3 separate regions of the Homo sapiens genome follow, and all the other regions are linked to region 1. Evidence: promoter capture Hi-C in 16 types of primary human blood cells and fetal thymus (Javierre and others, 2016). All regions are on one chromosome and are shown on one strand. The core of a region is centred on a gene start or on the middle of the fragment in contact, and the rest is flanking DNA. Distances in the headings are between cores, read along the strand shown. Region 1 holds the start of NMRK1 (nicotinamide riboside kinase 1). Region 2 overlaps PTAR1 (protein prenyltransferase alpha subunit repeat containing 1). Region 3 overlaps LOC105376076 (a long non-coding RNA gene).

What was found. The method cuts DNA at HindIII sites, captures the fragments that hold promoters and counts their contacts. A CHiCAGO score of 5 or more calls a contact.
Region 2: a fragment that was not itself captured here is called in contact with the fragment with the promoter of NMRK1 in region 1 in 1 of 17 cell types (total B cells); the score reaches 8.9 in total B cells.
Region 3: a fragment that was not itself captured here is called in contact with the fragment with the promoter of NMRK1 in region 1 in 1 of 17 cell types (total B cells); the score reaches 8.9 in total B cells.

What each region holds. Positions count from the first base shown.
Region 1 is chr9:75,086,905-75,089,587 of GRCh38, forward strand. It overlaps NMRK1 (nicotinamide riboside kinase 1), which reads right to left and starts at 1,251. Exons shown (of 9, transcript NM_017881.3): 1 at 1,104-1,251. It overlaps OSTF1 (osteoclast stimulating factor 1), which reads left to right and starts at 1,610. Exons shown (of 10, transcript NM_012383.5): 1 at 1,610-1,822. The coding sequence starts at 1,789. RefSeq lists silencers at 1,121-1,720, 1,911-2,000. The HindIII fragment of the contact is 4,153 bases long and covers 1-2,683 here.
Region 2 is chr9:69,743,101-69,745,783 of GRCh38, forward strand. All of the region lies in intron 2 of PTAR1 (protein prenyltransferase alpha subunit repeat containing 1), which reads right to left. Among named protein-coding and RNA genes, the nearest start is that of PTAR1, 16 kb to the right of the region's middle. The HindIII fragment of the contact is 5,082 bases long and covers 1-2,683 here.
Region 3 is chr9:69,768,099-69,770,781 of GRCh38, forward strand. The region is part of intron 1 of LOC105376076 (a long non-coding RNA gene); the gene reads left to right. Among named protein-coding and RNA genes, the nearest start is that of PTAR1, 9.4 kb to the left of the region's middle. The HindIII fragment of the contact is 1,163 bases long and covers 781-1,943 here.

The sequences.
Region 1 (2,683 bases), core at 1-2,500:
TGGGTTTTTTTTTTTTTTTTAAGACAGAGTCTCGCTCTGTTGCCAGGCTGGAGTGCAGTGGCGCAATCTCGGCTTACTGCAACCTCCGCCTTCTGGGTTCAAGTGATTCTCCTGCCCCAGCCTCCCGAGTAGCTGGGACTACAGGCGTCTGCCACCACGCCCGGCTAATTTTTTGCAGTTTTAGTAGAGATCGGGTTTCACCAGGTTGGCCAAGATGGTCTTGATCTCTTGACCTCGTGATCCACCCGCCTTGCCCTCCCAAAGTGCTGGGATTACAGACGTGAAGGGCTGGGGTTTTTGAAAACGCAATTCATGCCCCTCCCCCATTGGTTTCATTTATGTAGGTTCTTAGGTAAACAGTTTTTTCTTTCCCCAAATATACAATTAATTTACAATATTGACTGTTATTTTGAACTTATGCCATTGGCTTCCTTGTGTGCTCCAGTTCTTTCCTCCCACCGAAGATTCAATCCGATAGATCAGGGGTAGGAAAACTTTTTCTGTAAAGTGCCAGACAGGAAATGCTTTGGGCTTTGCCAGCTGCTACTCAACCCTGCTGGGTAATGCGAAAGCGGCCACAGAAAACACAGATGCAAATGAGCGTGACCGTGTTCCAGTAAAATTTTACGGACACTGAAATCGTAATTTCATGTAATTTTCACGTGTCACAAAGTATTATATTTCTTTTTATTTCTTTTCAGTCATTAAAAAAAGTAAAAAAAAAAAAAATTCTTAGCAGGCCTTACAGTAACAGGCAGCAGGCGGGCAGTAGGTCATCACCCCAACGCTAGAGGAATGAGACCATATCGATCCGCGAGGATCAAGTCCTGATCCTGTCCCTGGCGACTTCTCCAGGCTGCGCGGTCTCTTGGAGGCAGCGTTCCCATTTTCAGGATTATTCCGGGGCGCTAGAGCACCACGCCACCATGAGTACACGTCCTCCTCGGCAGGCCACCTATCAGCTCTGTGAGGGTGGCAAGAGTCCAGGCAAGGCTTTCAGGGCGCAACCAAGTCCCGGGCTCCAGCACAGAAACCCTCTGGAAACACCTCCAGGCCCCAGCAAGGCGGCGCGGCGCGGCAGGGGCGAGCAGGTACGCACTCACCTGGCGCCAGTTCGAGTCCTCCCAAACACAGCGGCAGAGGCGACAGCCAAGCGCGCGCCTGTACCCAGTGCGCCGCTACCCGCAGCTCGCTCCCCGAGAGGCCCACAGCCCCTTTCCCCACGCTCCTCCTGGGTTAGAGGGATGCCAGGTAGGGGCGGTCACCAGAGGCCCCTTTTCTCTACTCTCGGCGCCGGGTTCCAGCCCCCGTTGGGGCGGGGCGGGGCGGGGCGGGGCTCCGGCTAGCTTGGCCTCTTCCGCGCGCCCCTGCGCAGCTCCGGCCCTTCCCTATCGGGAGCGCGCGCGGCCCGCGGCACTGCACTGGCGCACGCCCGCTTCGCCCTCGCTCGGCTCCGGCTGGTTCCGCCGCCGTGCGCGCCGCCCGCGCTCCTGCTGCGGCGAAGCTGCCAGCCCGGGAGCCAATTAGCGCTCGGCTAGGCGGGGTCCACTTCCTCGTCGGCCCGGCGCGCGCTCTGGACTGCTCCGGCGGCCGCGGGGCGGGGCGGAGCACTCGGCGGAGCCGCTCTGCCTGCGTCCGCTCTTCCCGCAGCCAAGGGTGGGCGCCGGTCCTAGGAGGCGCACGGTTGTAAGCCAGACAAAAAGAACTGGGGTGCCCGGAGTGCCAGGTGGCGGGCAAGCGGTGGGCTTTTCGGCGGGGTCTTTAGGATTTGCAGCTCCAGGAAGCGAGATGTCGAAGCCGCCACCCAAACCAGTCAAACCAGGTGAGGGAGGTAAGGTAGGCGCTTGCCAGGTCCTGCGACCGCCGCGGTGCCGGCGCCTCCTCTGCAGCTTGGCAGGGAGGACCCGGCGCGCACCCGGCCCCGAGCCTGGCTTCCGAGATCGGCCCCACCGGGATGGGCGCTCTTAGTTTTGCGTTCGCTGTTACGGAGGAGGGATCGATTTTGATAGCAAGAGGATTTCGAGGATTAATATATATATATATATTTAAAGGGGAGTAGCCCTCACTTTTGCTACGTTGTCATTCGCTGAAACTTTCAGAGGGTGTGATGGCAACGTCCCATGGAAGTTTTCCGGAAAGACAGGGCCATTGATCTCCCTTTAAAAAATGTCATGAAATGATCTTTAGCCACTTCCTCTTTTCTCAGTGTTTGTCACTGTCAAGTTAGGGTTCCTGACCGGCCAGAGCGAACGGGAAGTGCAATCCCTGCAGGGTGGGGTGGGCGAGCGAGCCTCCCTCGGGACTTAAGCGTGGAGCAGCGTTTGAAATTGACCTCGGGATCTTGGGAAGAGCGTTTAGAAAAAAACCCTATACTCGCGCTCCTGGTGGAAAGAATCTAGGATGCGGCAGTGATCTCAGCTGTTGCTATTTGGAAGTGTCATTTTATCATCTCCTTTGCCTTTGCTCTCCCAAAGACGTTGGCGTGCTAAACCTGAGAGGGCTGAGATTACTAAATTCCTCAAAGCAGTTTTCTGGGCGGATTGTCCTTGTTCATTTTTGCTCTGTTCTTAGAATATTTTCTGTGATATGCAGAAATAAGATAATTGTAAAAGAAACTGACGTATTTTAATTAAAAGTTGTAACATACTGTTCCGCTCATTCATTTGGGTAGGTAATTAGAAAG
Region 2 (2,683 bases), core at 98-2,597, 5.3 Mb before region 1:
GCATTACTGTGTATGAGGCATGGCAGTAAGCACTTTATTTTATATTATTTCACTAAATTCTCATAATCACAATCCAAAATATTCTTATCCCACTTTTCAGATAGGGAAACTGAAATTCTGCAATTTAAGCAATTTGCCCGTAGTCACCCAATTAGCATGTGGCAAAGTCAACATCAAAATTGTTTCCAACAAGTCAATTATGCTGCAAACAAAATGTCTGCCTACAATAATTGGGACATTTTCAGTGTTTAAGTAAAATATAAACTTTTTAATATCTAAGAGCAAATACACATAAACACATCCAATAGTCATTTAAAAATATTCTAGCTAACAATAAAATCAATTATTTTATTCTATCTTAATAGGAGATTAACATTTATTTGGGGCCCATGATTTCATTACTAGTGAGCATATTGGAATATTCAATTCAAATGAGCAACAAACAGTAGGATCAGTACACATTTATTTTGACCTCCAAGTCATTACATACATTACAACACAATATGCCTATGAAGAATAATTAACCTCTTCATTTTTTTACTTTTAGTAGTTTTTGGCACTAACTTAATGTTTATCAAGAAAAATAAATATAATATTCTATGTCACTATTCATTTAATTCCACAAATATTCCAAGTATTGACTATGGACAAAGATTAAAGTAGGCCCTTAGGACTGAGTGATTGAATGTAATGATAAACAAGACCTAATTTTGCCTCTAGGTTATCTTCAAGTTGGAGAGACTATATAAACAAATAATTATATAAGGCAAAATAATTATGAAGTAGAAACATAAACCACATTTTGGGGCCCACCAAAGAAGCTGCAATTAATTCTTAGTGGAATTATACATGGAAGACTGTAAATAAATAAAGTGGTCACGGCACCACCTTACCATACTGGAAAAAGTATGAGCAAAGATAAAAATGCATGGAACTTCACACATAGTCTGCTCTCTAAGAGATTATGGATACCAGAGCATGACTACAACACAAGGTACTGGTAAAATGTACCAGGAAGTGAAACCTTCTGAAACCTGGTCTCAATCTCCTGATCAGCTTGGCCTTCCATTACTTTCCTTTACATGTTACATTCCACCTGAGTCAAACTCCACTGTCCTATGAACACACGTCCTACCCGCCTACCTTCTTTTCTCGGAACATAATTCAGATTTACCTGCTTGCTATTCTTTCTGGCTCATGTCTTCCCGTCTCCTAATATTTAACAAAAAAAAAGTTTAAAGGCTTTCCTAACCTACCTAGTTGGAAAAAAATCTTTCATCTCTGCTTTTTTTTTTTTTTCTCTGAGACGGAGGCTCACTTTGTAGTACAAGTTGGAGTGCAGTGGTACAATCTTGGCTCACTGCAACCTCTGCCTCCTAGGCTCAAGCGATTCTCATGCCTCAGCCTCCCCAGTAGCTGGGACTACAGGCGCGTGCTACCATGCCCAGATAATTTTTTGTATTTTAGTAGAGACGGTGTTTCACCATGTTGCCCAGGGTGGTCTTGAACTCCCGAGCTCAGGTGATCCACCCGCCTCAGTCTCCCAAAGTGCTGGCATTACAGGTGTGAGCCACTGCACCTGGCCTCATCTGTTTTATGCGTATCTTACTTTTGTTACTTACATAAATATTGTCCTCTTAACTGGACCACAAATTTTTTGCACGCAGGTCCTCTCTAATACATGTTCAAATTATTCATTCACTCAACAAATTTTGTAAGCATCTACAATAAGCCAGGTACTGAGCTGGCTGAAGATGAGTAAGCACAGTCCCTGGCCAAAAGCAGCTCCATGTCTGACCACAGCACAGAGGAGTGGTAAGAGGATAGGCCTTCCTTAAAGCCATACTACCTGGGTTTGAATCCCAGCTTCTCCACTTACTACCTACATAACCTAACCTCTTGGAACCTCAGTGAAACAAGGACTCACTCAGTGAAACCTCAGTGAAACATCAACCTCATGGTGTTGTGAGCAATGAAATTCATTCCATTTCTCCACAGCTTTTTGACACACAGTGAGTACAATTAAACGCCATCACTGACTGACAAAGAAATGAGTATTTTCAACATAAGTAAGGAAGTCTGGAATAATGAGGAGGTTGTTCCTTTAGTAAAACTGTCTAAATTTCCAAACTTGTAAAATACGCAGCAATAACAAAAAACCCCTTTGTAGTCAAGTAGTTACATGGAAAGGTTTGTAAATGATGGGAAAGCCTCTGGAATTTCTTTTGACATCTACAATTTTCTAAAAAGTGATTATTCTACCTAGGTAAATTAGCATAGTCCCTTGGAATCTCCCTTTCTACATTAAAGAAAATGTGTCTGACCAATGGTAGCTGCTATTTGTTTGTACTTCTAACACAATTTCCTTCCTCCCTCCATCACAAGTGAAGACAAGAAGTCCATCCTCCATGAGAGACTTCTGTACAGCAGCACAAGGCAAAAACTAACACAGCAAGTACTTAAGTCCCCGCTTTTCATTTTATGGTTATGTGAAGATACAGGAAGACTTATCAAAGTAACACTTCCTCTACTGGCAGGTCTCTCCCTAAGAGAGCAACAGCAGCTACTGGGTTCAGACAGAGCCCAGCTCCATCACTTACTGGGAATTCTTGGGCAAATCACTTAATCTCTCTAGGCCTTAATGTCCTTCTCGTATGTAAGATGGAGCTATCATGGGTATATT
Region 3 (2,683 bases), core at 112-2,611, 5.3 Mb before region 1:
TTACATACCTGTTGGAAGGGTGAGGTAACAAGTCAGGGGAACCGTCATCAAATATCTCAGTCTTCAGCAATAAAACAGGGGACTATACCTTGTCCAGAAGCTACTTCAAGTCTCAAGAACCTCTAGGAAGCTCCTACCAGCCTTTTTATGGCACCTACTCAAGTGTTTCTCAAGAAACTCATCTGGAAGGGTGTCAGACCTCATGCTGGCTCTCTGTACATGCTTCTCCTTGCAACTGTCCCTGGAGAATAATGGTCTCTTCTTTCTGCTTTCCAAATCTTGTGTTCTTACTAGCAAACTCTGCTATGTTATGAAGGAGAATTTAGAAAGGGGTAATGATAATGCCTGGGTGACAATCCCAAGTTGCCAACAGACAATTCAGTACAGTTCACTCATTTTGCTTTGGTGAGTGAAAAAAATTGTGAGGTTCATTAGGGGTAATGGTAAGAGAAGCCACTGGCCCTTGGTCCCTGGATACATGTATTCTAGGTATGGAAAATATGACATAATGCACTGGATGGTGCTTCAGATTGCATATCGATCTTGTAAGACAGCACCACAACCCACATTGTGCTGCCCAATCTAGCACTGTATTTGAGACTTCAGTAGGTCATTCTGCTGCCTAATTAAGTAAACTGCTTTAGAATGGTGGGGTATGTTATGGTCAGTGAATCCCATGGGTATGAACCCTATTCCTGTGCTCCTTTTGTTTTAAAATGAGTTCATTGGTCAAAAATTAGGTATGCTAGTTATGTATTGTTGTGTAACAAATAAACCTCAAGCTTAGTGGCTTAAAACAATATTATTATTTCTGGCAGTTCTGTGGATTGACTGGGACCAACTGGGCAGTTGTTGGTTAGTGTCATGCAGTTACAGAAAGATAATGGCTGGGGCTGAAGTCATCAAAAGCCTTGACTGGCCTAGATGTCTGATTGTTTCTTTACTCACATGTCTGGTGCCGTGGTGCTTCTTGTTCTCTCTTTTCAACTGGCATCTCATGCTCCAGGGCTTTTCAGTGCATAGTGAGCTCAGGAAATTATACACAGCAGCTAACTTCCAAGAGGCAGGAAATGAGAGCTCAGGTTGGTTAAGGGTACAGCATCAATTTTGCAATATCAAAATGGTCAAAGCGGTCACAGTACTTCCCCAGAATCAAGGGGATGGAGGAAGTCCCATGGGATAGTGTGAAGGTCACATTGCAGAAGAGAATACGGGATAGAAGGTGGTGCTTTGCCTGTCTTGAAAAGAAAACCTATCATGTGTTAATTGGGGTACTGTATTAGGCTGTTCCTGCATTGCTGAAAAGGAATACCTGAGGCTGGGTAATTTATAAAGGAAAGAGGTTTAATTCACTCATGATTCCACAGGCTTTACAGGAAGCATGATGCTGGCATCTGCTTGGTGTCTGGGGAGGCCCCAGGGAGCTTACGATCATGGAGAAGGCAAAAATGGAGCAGGTGTCTTACGTGGTGAGAGTGGGAGTAAGAGAGAAAAGGGGGAGGTTCCACACACTTCTAAACAACCAGATCTCATGTGAACTCAGAGCTACAGTTCCCTAATGAAGGGGATAGCACCAAACCATTCATGAGGGATCTGTCTCCCATGATCCAAACAACTCCCACCAGGCTCCACCGCCAACACTGGAGACCACATTTCTTTTTTAAAAAAACTGTTTTTATTTTTATTTTTTCTGAATACATAGTAGTTATATGTATATATTAATGAGGTAGGAAATGACATTTCAACATGAGATTTAAAGGGCACACATATCCAAACCATATCAGGTATCATGACTGTAAACAAGGCATTCAGTATATCTATGGATAGTGATGAAGAAACTGGGGCAGGAAAACGTCAAATTGCTGTCCTGATGATGGAAGAATCCATTGTAAACAACCTGCCATCAGGTAGCTTGTCGGTTACTTTTGGTCCCTGTTGTTGAAAGCTTGGGCACCTAGCAATGACTCTAACAAGATCAGCTTTGCATGGGGGTTGGAGGGGGAATAAAACCTGCATTATTGCGCATAGGTATAATCTCTATGGCCACTATCATCATGAGCCCATAAAGCAAACATTGTCATGGCTAGGGAAAGAGGCTGAGTATCAGCCGTCGAATAGAACACTTTGTCCTGATTATTGAACATTTTCTGCAATGGATGGCCTTTTTTGAGCATTCATATGGAACACAAATAACACCAGAATCTATGCCTATTCAGAGAGGTCTCTCCTCATACCTCTTCCCCAAACTTCTTTATCATCAATTACCAAATTTTGCTAATTCCTGTATAATTAGTTCATACATTGTATTAGTCAGGGTTCTCTTAGAGGGAGAGAACTAATAGGATATATTATATCCTATAGGATATAATATATCCTATTAATATATATATATACTGAGAGAGACAGGAGTTTATTAAGTATTAACTTACATGATCGCAAGCTCCCATAATAGGCTGTCTGAAGCTGAGGAGAAAGGAAGCCAGTCTGAGTCCCAAAACTGAAGAATTTGGAGTCCGATGTTCAAGGGCAAGAAGCACCCAGCACAGGAGAAAGATGTAGACTAGGAGGCTAGGCCCATCTTGTCCTTTGAGTTTTTTTCCTGCCTGCTTTATATTCGCTGGCAGCTGATTAGGTTGTGCCCACCAGATTAAGGGTGGGTCTGCCTTTCCCAGCCCACAGACTC